2 separate regions of the Homo sapiens genome follow, and region 2 is linked to region 1. The links are contacts of gene promoters, found by promoter capture Hi-C in human tissues and cell types (Jung and others, 2019). All regions are on one chromosome and are shown on one strand. The core of a region is centred on a gene start or on the middle of the fragment in contact, and the rest is flanking DNA. Distances in the headings are between cores, read along the strand shown.

Region 1 (6,197 bases), core at 1,557-4,056:
AACATATACCAGGAAGCACCAAAGAAGGCAAAAGATATATAGGTAAGACCTTCCGGAGACCATTTGCTCAAGGGTCCCTGCATGCCTGGTGAAGGGAATGATATTAATAATAATAAGAAGAAAAGGAATCTGAGAGCAGCTCCCTTAATTAAGAAGGTTGCCCACTAGGTTGTTTTATTGTTTGGCTTCTCCACACAGAACCCATCACCACCAGCCTGCATGTTTAGAAACAGCAAGTTCCCCAAGCTACAGAGAAACCTACCATGGCGGTCTCTTAAATAAGTAAATAAACAGCATATATATGTTTTGTTAAAAAAAAACTTTAAAGCGAAAGTTATACATATGTAACAGCGTCCTTTCGACGTGAAATACCCATGGGAGAATCTGGGCAGGCGCTCAGCTTGCAGTTCGGGTTCCGAAGGAGACTTTGCAGCAAAATCCTTAGGAAAAAGCAAAGCAAGAAGAACGTGGTGCTGGGTCAGGCCTCACCGCTGGTTCCCGTGGTCGCGGCCAAAGGGCGCCAGTGAAGCCAGGCCGGCCGCGGGGTGGGGCGGGAAACGGCAACCCGAGCCCGCGGGTCCCTGGTCACCTGGCTTCTGTGGCGCTGGATTTGCAGGTCTCTCATCTTCTTCCCCTCTTTCATTTTGTTTTTCTCGTTTTTACACTGGAATCTGCTTCTGAGCATCCTGGATGGGCAACTCAGATGTCGCACTCGCTGTCGCTGGACGTGATGGAGATGGCTGAAGTGGCCGCCTTGCTGGATAGACTGGCGGCCGGGCTGGTGGCGACGCCCAGCACCTCTGGCGTGCCGTCGCCCTCCGCCCGTAGTGCCCGCCCGGAACCCTGTGACAGGACCTGCTGCTGGAGTCTACGGGGAAGAAAGGGAACACGGGTCACAGCTCGTAACACAGCCGCCCGTCGCCCGCCCCCACCACCTCCTGCGTCCCTCCAGCCCGGCGGCTAGAGGTTCTTCCGAAGACCCCAGCAGTTAAGGCGAGGATTACTCGGCAAGGCGACAGAGGTCGGGCAGGAGTCCGCGGCCGCCCCTCCGCGGGTCCCTACTGTTGTGCCCCACCATGATTCGCGCCCTTTCTCAGCGCCGCAGCTCCCAGGTCTTTTATATACTGGGCTTGCAGTGTCCTCCCTGTTTGTTGTGCACTTTTGGGAGATTTACAGGACTGTCAGGAAATAAACGAAGTGTGGGTGACAAGGACAGATCGGTCCCAGGGACATGGGATACCATTTCTAACGGTGCGTCTGCCTGGGGCTTACGCCTGAGCAAGTGCTCCCGCGATCGCGTTGGATCGGGTCGGCCCGACCTAAAGGCAAAAAGGATTGTAAGGAGCATTTGGGCCTGGGGGATGAGGCCGGGCTCTTCCGCAAAATGTTTGGCTAATCGAGATCCACACTCCGGGAAACGAAAAGCCTCGGCCCACGGACTAGTTTGCTGTTTTGAGACAAGAGTGGCAGGCAGCGCATGGGAAGAGGAAAACTCGACTTCCCATTTCTCAAAAGTCCATTGAAAACTGTTTTCAAAGCATTAGGGAGGGATATACCTGGGCTTTGAAAATGATAATTAACATGAAACCGACACATTGCTAATAAGCCAGGCTTCGATTAATAGTAGGAGCCTGTGCCCAGGCTGACAAGAATTAGCTTTGGGTCTTGGGGTCCCTAACTGTTTGTAGGATTTTAATTTTTTATTTCTCTTCCCCTCTCCGTCCCAGTGAAGCCTTGGTTTGGTGACCGGGACCAGCTGCTGCAGCTGCCCGCAGGCGTGGGGAGCCAGCGGGTGGGGAAGCAGAGCCGGCAAGGGAACTCCCGGCCAGGAGCCCAGAACGCAGGGCTCTTAACCCAAGACAGACCGCGCTCCCAACTCCTGCTGAATTGGAGTCGCCAGGGACTGGGTAAGGGCGCCAGAGGTGCCTCCACCCGCCTCCTCCCCGGTGCGCTCAAAGCGCGGAGGCCTCTAGGTACCGACCTGTTCTTGGCTGCAGCCGCTCGGTCCCTTTGTCGGCGGTTTTTGAACCAGTTGCCCACCTGCGTAGGGGTCAGTCCGGTTGCCTGGGCGAGCTCACGTTTTTTGCTGGGGTTAGGGTATGGATCCTGCAGGTACCACTCGCGTAGCAGGTGCCGCGTGCGCTCCTTGAAGCAGTGTGTCTTCTGTTCGCCGTCCCAAATGGTGCGCGGCAGCGGGAACTTCTTCCTTACTCGGTACTTGTCCACAGGTCCCAGGGGTCTTCCACGCAGCTTCTCAGCCTCCTGGTAGTGTGCTTCAAGCCACAGCGCCTGCAGCTTGGCGTGCGACTCCTTGGTGAACTTGTGGTTTTCCAGGATATGATAGAGCTCGCGGTAGTTGCCACCGTGAAAGGCCACGATGGCTCGTGCGCGTAGCACCGACTCATTCTTGTTGAGGGCCTCGCAGGCCGCAGGGGCCACGGGCAGCGACCAGAGGAAGCGACCCAGGCGCTCCACATCGCCGCTCTCTTCCAGGGTCTCACATACCCCGGCCACTTGCTGGGGGCTGAAATTCAAGATGGGCAGCTGGAACATCGAGGCAGTGCCGGCGGCGGCGAGGGCACTGAGCCCGGAGCGGGACACGCAGCAGATGCCCGCGGGCCTGGCTGAGTGTGCCAGGCGCTTGTTGATGAGGCGGATTGGGGCAGCGGGACACACTACCGGGTGGCGGCGGTGGCTCAACGGCCGGGAGCGGACGACCCCGACTGGAGGAGGTGCTGGCTCCGCGGCTTGGGGTTCGGGCTCGGCTCGGCTCAGGCACGCCGGCAGGCGAGCTGGCTCCGCTATTGGGGTGGGCGGATTGGCGGCGCGGGCGCCATGGAGACCCCCTGTCAGTCACCGGGTGGCTCTGCCAATCAAAGCTTGAATCAGCACGCCAGGACTATTTCAGCACCTCCCCGTGCTCGACAGCGCCCGCCGTTAGCTCCTGGACTTTTCTTCAGTATTTTGCAGAACCTGGAGGTTGAAAAGACATGCGAGTGTCTGGGAGAAAAAGAGAGGCGAGTGCGGCAGCGTTCACTACTCCTCCCTCCCCCACCCCGCTCTACCCCTCCCTCCCTTTTTCCCACCAAATAGGCAGTGATGCCACAGGAATTCAGGAATTCACTTTGGGGCGATGCGTTGTCTCGGTCGAGAGGTCTCCAGAGGACAAAGAGGACTGGGCCAAACTGAAATGCTCCGAGAATTCGCAAGTTTAGTTGTAACGAAACAGCAAACCTTGCGGTGGGAGCAGGAAGCCGGTGGGGGGAAGCGATCTTCTCATTTTTCCCAAGTACCCATCTCTGCATGCCTCCCTCTTCCCCTTTCCAGTTGCCAAAGCAGCTGAGTGGGAAGCAAATCTGGAGCAGCAGGAACAGGACCAGGGATCTGTAGAAGAGGTCAGTTTGAACTCTAGCCTTACTCCCTTCAAAGCCCACTAAAATAATTTTAAATGCCAACAAGGACATGTTCACGTCTGATAACGCAGATGCAGACCACGAAGTCAGACACTTTAAGAAAAGAAGGGTGGGCTGTAGGGACCTCCAAATAAAGGGGGAGAAATATACTTTCTCCCCCTCCCCCAGTTTAATGGACTTGAACAAAGTGCAGCATAGCCACATCTAGAGCCGAGAAGTCATTGGTAGGTCAGGACAGCAACTTAAAAGCTTATTTCCTAGATCTTTTTTAAAATATCGACTTAACTCCTTTCCTTGTAGGCTTATTTTGCCCCTACCTTGTGTTAGAACTTATACCTCTTGAGCTGGGGATAACAACTCTAACCTTGGCATTTTAGCTCAAAAACAATTCAGTAAAAATACAATACAGAAGGGCATCCACGACAATGCGGGGGCCCAGAAAGCACTTCCTAAGCCGCTGATTATTGACCCCTCCTGTAGTGAGGAAGGAGTGGCTTGGTGGCTCTGACTTTGGGCTAGTGGAGTGAATTGGCAACTTTTATTGATTCCCAATTGGCAGTCCACATCATACCATTTTCTGAGGCCTGGGTCAAAGAAACCATGATCTCATCTGGGCCTGTGGTAGGGGTTTGTTTAGTTTGAAGAAAATAACTGGTAGGGGGCTGTATAACAAAAACGCCAGGAAAACCGTTTTGGGGAGGTCCATCCCTAGACAGAAATCAGGTGAGAACGTTCACAGCCGAACTGGACTGGACCCGACTGTCTTTTCTTTAGTATCAAGTACAATTTGTATGCGGCTTGTACAGATCTGGTAAATCAGAAGGCAGATAGATAGCACAGATGGTTGGAGGTGTCGGGTCAGATCACGCCACGCCTGAGTGCAGGGCAAAGCTCGTTCTGACGGAAAACCCTGATATTATTTTCACAGATCTTCACAGTTCACTCGAAAAAAATAGCAGAGGGGAAGAAAAAAGCCCTGAAACCATTTACATCATTTCTGTGAGATTGCCAACCGCCTCAACGGAGAGGCTTTCTTTTCTAAGAGTTCATTTTCTTGAAATACGACAAGGCAGGGGCAAAATAAAGAGGGCGATGAAGATAATGACAAAGCATAAACCTTCTTTCCCTTGGAGCGACTTCCGAATCAGCCGGAAGGACAACTTTTAGAAAGAAACATCGGATACAAGGGCCCCGAACACGCAGGCGGAGGAGAATCCGCGGTGCAGAAAAAGAGGGCCTCGGTGGCCGGGCAGGGATGAAGCCGGACCCGGGAGGGCTGCGATCCCGGAGCTTCTGGCCAGGGGAGGAAAGCACCCCCTTGCTCCAGTTTGCAGAGGTTTATTTTCCCTCTCGGGGTGGTTACTTTGCCGGCTATTGCTCGCGAAATTGCTTGGCGCTCACCCTTAGCGCGCAGAAGAGGCGGTGGGGTCCGCGGAGACCTTACAGCCCGCGAGCCGAGCCGAGAGCCGACCCCGATCCCAGCGCCTAGCTGCTGAGGTGGGAGAGGTTGTCCATGCCCCAGGAGACCACACGTCTCCCTCTCGCCCTTTTACTGGACAGTTTGGAAGCGGCACATTCGGGGAGAGCTGGTTTCTTACCCTTAATCTTTGTGAGCAAGTGGACAGTCTAGGGGCCCCATCCAGGAAATGGGAATATTTATCCCATGGCCCATTTCTTGGATAATAGTTCTGCAAATAATTAGATGAGGGCGCTTTAGCTTCTGCGTGTCTGAGGCTCGCGGGCAACTGGAACTGAGAGTCTGAGTTGGCCTCGCGGGAGCCGCCAGAAGGGTGCGGGCTGCGTGTGGCAGAGTAGGAGCACTGTCTGGTGGCTTGGCAGGAAGGGACTGAGAAGTGCCTGGAGGTTGGGGACTACTATCAGGAGATCCATCTTCGCCATCGCAAGGGACTTGATTTAATTTTATTAACCCAAAGGAAATAGACTGCGCCAGGGCACCTTGGAATCACTTATTTGTTCACCAGCTTCACAAGGGGAAGGGACGAACAGGAAGAAGTATGTGAGCCGAGCCCCCTGGGAAAGAGGGAAGCTCCACGGGATTCCTTAGGAATAACCCTCTTTTGGGGAAGGCGGTGACCCTCACCCCACCTTTAAGGTGTACTTCTCCCAAGTTTGCCAGACGAAAGCTGTGACTTCGGGCTGGCTTTTCTTAATTTTACAGAAGGGTATATATTTTTTTCTTTTACCAGTTTTGAGGTTTTGTGCCAACCCTCCAGGCAACCCCTCACTTCTTATCCCACATTTCATTTTTCTTTTGCATTTGACCGGGAAATCGAGAAAGTACAGTGGCAGCCCTTGGCCTTGGGCCTGTCTGGGTGGTTTTGCAGCTTGCTACTGGTGGTTTGCAGCTAGTAGATTGGGACATGAGGTCTTGGACAAAGGCTCGGGTCTTGCCGGGAATCCATAGACGTCTACTCAGCTTTCTCTAGAGTTGCATTTTGTGGGGCAAATATGGAGAAAAAAATCATGTAGAAGATGATGTCCAAGGGCTGGTTTTGTAGCTAACTGTTTCGTGCTGGATTTAGGCAAAGTGCCCCCAGGGAATTCTGAGGCTCATGCCGGAAATATCTGGAGTTCAGTGTGGGACTTCTGCACATATGGGGATCTCACTCCTCGCTCTGCCCCTACTGATTTTCCTCTCTAGAGTAGAGGACAGGTGGAATCCTGGTCACACCCTGCTCACATTTGCCAGAGGAGAGCAGTGCTTAGAAGTCAATACTTTCCTACCTCTGGGTTCCAATCTTATCTTTTCTTTGACTTTTCCTA
Region 2 (5,657 bases), core at 699-3,198, 67 kb after region 1:
AGCTGCAGGTCTGTTGTAGTTTGCTGGAGATCCACTCCAGACCCTGTTTGCCTGTGTATCACCAGTGGAGGCTGCAGAACAGTAAATATTGCAGAACAGCAAATATTGCTGCCTGATCCTTCTTCTGGAATCTTTGTCCCATAGGGTCACCTACCTGTTTGAGGTGTCTGTCAGCCTCTACTGGGAGATGTCTCCCAGTCAGGCTACATGGGAGTCAGGGACCCACTTGAGGAGGCAGTCTGTCCATTCTCTGAGCTTGAATGCCATACTGGGAGAACCACTGCTCTCTTCAGAGCTGTCAGACAGGGACATTTAGGTCTGCAGAAGTTTTCTATTGCCTTTTGTTCAGCTGTGCCCTGCTCACAGAGTTTGAGTCTATAGAGGCAGTAGGCCTTGCTGAGCTGTGGTGGGCTCCCCCAGTTCAAGCTTCCTGGCTGCTTTGTTTACCTACTCAAGCCTCAGCAATGGCAGACACCCCTCCCCCTGCCAGGCTGCAGCCTCACAGGTCAATCTCAGACTGCTATGCTAGCAGTGAGCAAGGCTCCTTGGGCATGGCACTCACCGAGCCAGGCACGGGAGGGAATCTCCTGGTCTGCTGGTTGCTAAGACCTTGGACAAAGTGCAGTATTTGGGCGGGAGTGTACTGTTTTTCCAGGTACAGTCTGTCACAGCTTCCCTTGGCTAGGAAAGGGAAATCCCCCAACCCCATGCACTTCACGGGTGAGGGGACGCCCTGCCCTGCTGCAGCTCACCCTCTGTGGGCTGCACCCACTGTCCAACCAGTCCCATTGAGATGAACCAGGTACCTCAGTTGGAAATGCAGAGATCACCTGTCTTCTGTGTAGATCTCGCTGGGAGCTGCAGACCAGAGCTCTTCCTATTTGGCCATCTTGGAAGCGACCCCAAAATCTAAACTTCTATATGTTAAAAAATCTTAAGGGCAAAATGACGAAGATGTAAAATATTTGCAATAAGATTGCAAATAGTTAATTAACGTCTCTAGACTATAAAGTGCTTATATGTACCAATAAGGAAAAAATTACTTTCTCAATAGAAAAATGAGCAAAGTCCATTTGACAAAGAGATAATTCACTGAAAAAGAAATTCAAGTGGCTTATAAAATCTATGAGAAAACAGCTTTCCTTATTAATTGTCAAAGAAACATAAATCTGTGCATAACAGTGTTTATTCACATGTGACTTCTATATAAAAAACAAAGTTGGGACAACTTACATGTCCAGTATTAAAGGATGGTTGAAACTGTCTGGTTTGTCTATGTGGAGGAATATTATAGAGCCATGGAAAGAGTCAGATTTTAGAAGAATAATGACATGGACAAATGCTCACAATGCAATGTGAAGAGGAAAAAGGTGCACAGAAAACTATGCTGTCATGATCTCATTTTTTTTAAAAGCCTGTTTTACTGATAAAATAGACTTTTGGCAGCAAAACTTGATCTCAACTGACATGAAGCTATCCACTTCCTGTTACTTTTATAGGCAAAAAAAATACCAACAACCTGATTTGTTAAAAGCTTTCAGAATAAAGCAAAATATCATATTAAGATTCTAAAGTAAGAGCTATCTTTAGTACAGTGTATTTTGCCTGAATCAAATCAATAGACCTTATTTTAATATAAGTAAATGACAGGTTTTGAAGATAGATCTTTTTAAGTATAAGAGTGTGCTATATAAAGGTACCATATGTCTACTTTAATTCTGTGTGTTAGAAGAACTAAGCTTTAGATTCAAATATATGTACTATATATACTGTCCTACTGATTTCACAAGTAATATTTAATGGAAATTATTTTCCAGTTTAATGAACATTATTCTGCAAGAAATCTAAATCCTCTGTCATCAGAGCAAGAGATTGGTAAGTTGTTTGAAGTTTGCTACCTTTAAAAACATGTTAACTCATTAGTACAGTATTTAGTTTCTCTAACTTATTTTCTTAGGTGCTCAATTTATTCTTTAGAAATTACTGTTACTTCTGCACTACTCACTGATATTCTTTTCTTTCTTTTTCAAGCAATTAGCTTTTCTCACTACTCTATTAAAACTTACTTTCTCCAAGGTTATTGACCTCCCAATTATCAAACATTATGGGTATCTTGTATTTATTATCATATTAAGACTCTTTGCAACATCTGATATAATTGGTTATTTCCATCTTTTTTCTGTAATTTTTGGATTTCCTTTTCTCTCTTTGATACTTTTTATTGGATATTCTTTCTTCATTTTTCCTTTGATTGATTAATTCATTCAACATATTAATATAAATATGTACGTGTATTATATTTTATATCAGGTATGCTTTTGGGCTGTGGTGACAGTGGACAAGAATGAAAAATTCTCATATGGTTTATGTTCCAGTGGGATAAACTGAAAATAGTCAAATAAATCAATGTATAATTTATCAGATAGTACACTAAACAACAGTTGTTATGGGCTTGAATAGTCAGACTCACATATTATGATTTTAAATCTAATATTACCTTTATGTTGTAGAATGATACAAGATAAGAGATAATGGTAGGTACAGCATCCTTGTTTCATTGAGAGGATCACCAACTACCCAAGTAATACACCTTCTTTTGCCACTGCCACCCAAGGAACATGTCAGGCTGCTATGGACAAAAGGCATGTTGCATGTAGGTCACCTTGAAACACAAGAGCTGTAACTTCAATTTCACACCAGTCTTTTATATTATTCTAGTCATGAGGCCCAAGGCCTGTATGCTAACTCATAGCTCCTCTAATTCAGGTGCAGTCTCACACAGCAGACTAGATAGATAAAACATTCTGTGTTTACCTTAATTCTGTGAAAACAGTGCTGTGGGAAGTCAGGCTCCAAGGTCATTTTCCAGGTGGGCCCGAATCTTCCCAGGCTTGATGTTAATTTTTTACTTATTGTTGGTGATAAATACTATGCAGCAAAGTAATGTAGAGTAAGGGAAATAGGGAATACTTGGATTGGGAAGGTGATTGCCGTATTGCAAGGAGTCAGGAAAGGCATCACTAAAAGTCAACATTGAGCAGAAGGAGGTGCATATACAAGCTACTGGGAAAAGTGTTCCAAGCAAAGGGCAAAAAGGTCTTGAAATGGGAACATACTCAGTATGTTCGTTGAAAATTAGTTAAATTGGTATGATTTATGGAATAAGGAAGGAGAGACTGGTGGGAGATTAAATCCAAGAGGTGGATGGAGAGCAAATCATGTGGGACCTGTAGATCATTAAGGACTTAGGGTTTTTTTTCTGAGTGAAATGGGAAACCTCTGGAAGGTTTTAAGTAAAGGACTGAAATGATCTGACAGGTTTTAAAAGAATTATTCTGGCTGCTATGTGGAGAACAGACTGTATGGAAACAAGGGCAAAAGCAGGGAAAGGTCAGGAAGCTATAAAATGATACAAAGTGAGAATTGATGAGTAGTAGTAGTAGAAGTGGTGAGAACATGTCAGATTTTGGTTACAAAGTTTTCTGAAGATAGAGCTGGAAGAATTTGCTTATGGACTGGATATAAGGATTGAGAGAGAGAAACAAAGATTGTGCCATGGTTTTGACATGAATAACTTGGAATGGAGTTGCCATTTATAGAAATATGGAAGGCTCTAAGCGTAATTTGAGATTGAGGAGACAGGGGTTTCATTTAGGAAGTGTTTTAATTGAAAAGCCTATTTATTAGATACGTAAGTGAAAGTAAAGTAGGAAATTGTACATATGAATTTCGAATTCAATGAGATGGAGACACAGATTTTGGAATTTTTATAAATGGTATTTAATGCTATGAGATCAGAATGAATCTACCAATTGTATTTATTAAATGTCTGCCATCTAAAAATTTAAATCTATTTACATCCTCTTTTTTTTTGAGACAGAGTTTCGCTCTTGTTGCCCAGGCTGGAGTGCAATAGCACTATCTCGGCTCACGGCAACCTCCGCCTCCTGGGTTCAAGCAATTCTCCTGCCTCAGCCTCCCGAGTAGCTGGGATTACAGGCGCCCAGCACCATGCCCAGCTAATTTTTTGTATTTTTAGTAGAGACGGGGTCTCACTATGTTGGCCAGGCTGGTCTCAAATTCCTGACCTCAGGTGATCCACCCGCCTCGGCCTCCCAAAGTGCTGGGATCACAGGCGTGAGCCACCGTACCCAGCCCACATCCTCTTTTTTGACATTCTCATTCATTTGACACTCATTCACTTCAGTGTTTTCAAATATAATACATACAGATAATGAACAAATTTATATCTTGCTGCACTGACTTCTAAACTCTAGGACCTTATTTCTGATTGTACAGTTTAAATCTCTTTAGACATCTTTTGACATTAAAAACTCAGTGTAGCTGAAATGAAACTTGCTCTCCTTCTGACGTCCCTGATGGTATCTCCATTATTCTGGCTTTTAAGGTTTGGAGCATGGTAACAATTTTAACTTCTCTCTGTGACTGTGACTACATTCAACTAGTCATTAAGTTTTATCAGTTCTCTCTCTTAAATATTTATTTTTATTTTCTATTTTCATTGAAACCATTATATTTCAGTCTTACTGTTCACCTGGACTGTTACAATATCATCCTAATTGGTGTTTTCCATTTTTCAGCTTACCTATAGATCACAGCTTAATTAATCTTCAGTGCCCATAATGTTGGCCATGTCACTGCCCTAATCAGTTACCTTCAGTGACTCCCCCACTGACTATCAAATTATGCTTCTACTTTTCTAATTTAGCTCCAACTACCTGTTTCATTTTTTATTGGTATATAGTTGTACATATTTATGGGGTCCATGTGATATTTTGATACCTGCATACAATGTGTAATGATCAAATCAGGGTAATTGGAATATCCATCACCTCAGACGTTTATCATTTCTTTGTGTGGGGAATATTCCAAATCTTCTTTTCTAGCTATGTCAAAATACACTATAAATTCTTGTAAACCATACTACTACTCTAGAACTTATTCTTAAATTCCGTACTAGAACTTATTCCTTCTGTCTAACTGTATTTTTATACTCATTAACCAGTCTCTATTCATCCCCCAACATACCTTTTAAGGCTTTTATCTTATAAGGGTAACCTGTGCTTTGGCCAGACTCTGGAACTCAGTGTGTCTCAAGTATGCCCACACTTTCTTACCTGCTTTTTACTTCTTGCAATCCCCAACTTCTATCTCTTTCTATCTTTCGAGATAGAATTCTCTTCCATAAAACCTTTTATTTATCCCCTCAATCTTCTTTTTCAAAAAGATCTCTCCCTCTCTTTTCTGAATATCTCTTCTTTTTTATACTTTTTACCATTCTACCATCATTATTTATAAATAGATATAAAATCTCCTCTAGATCACAGGTTTTTTGAGGACAAGGATTTTAAAATGTACCTTTGAATTCCCCATAGCACCTATAATGCTGCCTTGCACAGTAATGTGTTCTTTTATTTACAGTGATCATATGAGTTTTATGAAGACTTCATATGAACTTCTTGTGAAATTAAAAACAAAATCAAATTCATTTATTCAAAGGGAAATTCAAGATTTTAGCTCTTTTTGGATCCGTGTTTACATTATACCTATTTTTCTTTAAGTCATATGGCTGTGTACTGAGAAATACACATAGTCAAAAAAATAAAGTGAGAAAGGGAGAGGGGAAGAACACAAGT

The links. The method cuts DNA at HindIII sites, captures the fragments that hold promoters and counts their contacts. A contact is called where the count stands out against the background at its distance.
Region 2: a fragment that was not itself captured here is called in contact with the fragment with the promoter of SIX6 in region 1 in 2 of the 25 tissues and cell types used here (H1 embryonic stem cells and heart right ventricle).

What each region holds. Positions count from the first base shown.
Region 1 is chr14:60,505,755-60,511,951 of GRCh38, reverse strand. SIX6 (SIX homeobox 6) reads right to left here and starts at 2,806. Exons shown (of 2, transcript NM_007374.3): 1 at 1,982-2,806; 2 at 1-868. The coding sequence starts at 2,553. The coding sequence ends at 700. It also overlaps a transcript of C14orf39 not described here. RefSeq lists an enhancer at 167-938. The HindIII fragment of the contact is 5,424 bases long and covers 523-5,946 here.
Region 2 is chr14:60,438,292-60,443,948 of GRCh38, reverse strand. It overlaps C14orf39 (chromosome 14 open reading frame 39), which reads left to right. Exons shown (of 18, transcript NM_174978.3): 17 at 1,818-1,875. Among named protein-coding and RNA genes, the nearest start is that of C14orf39, 45 kb to the left of the region's middle. The HindIII fragment of the contact is 3,929 bases long and covers 1-3,912 here.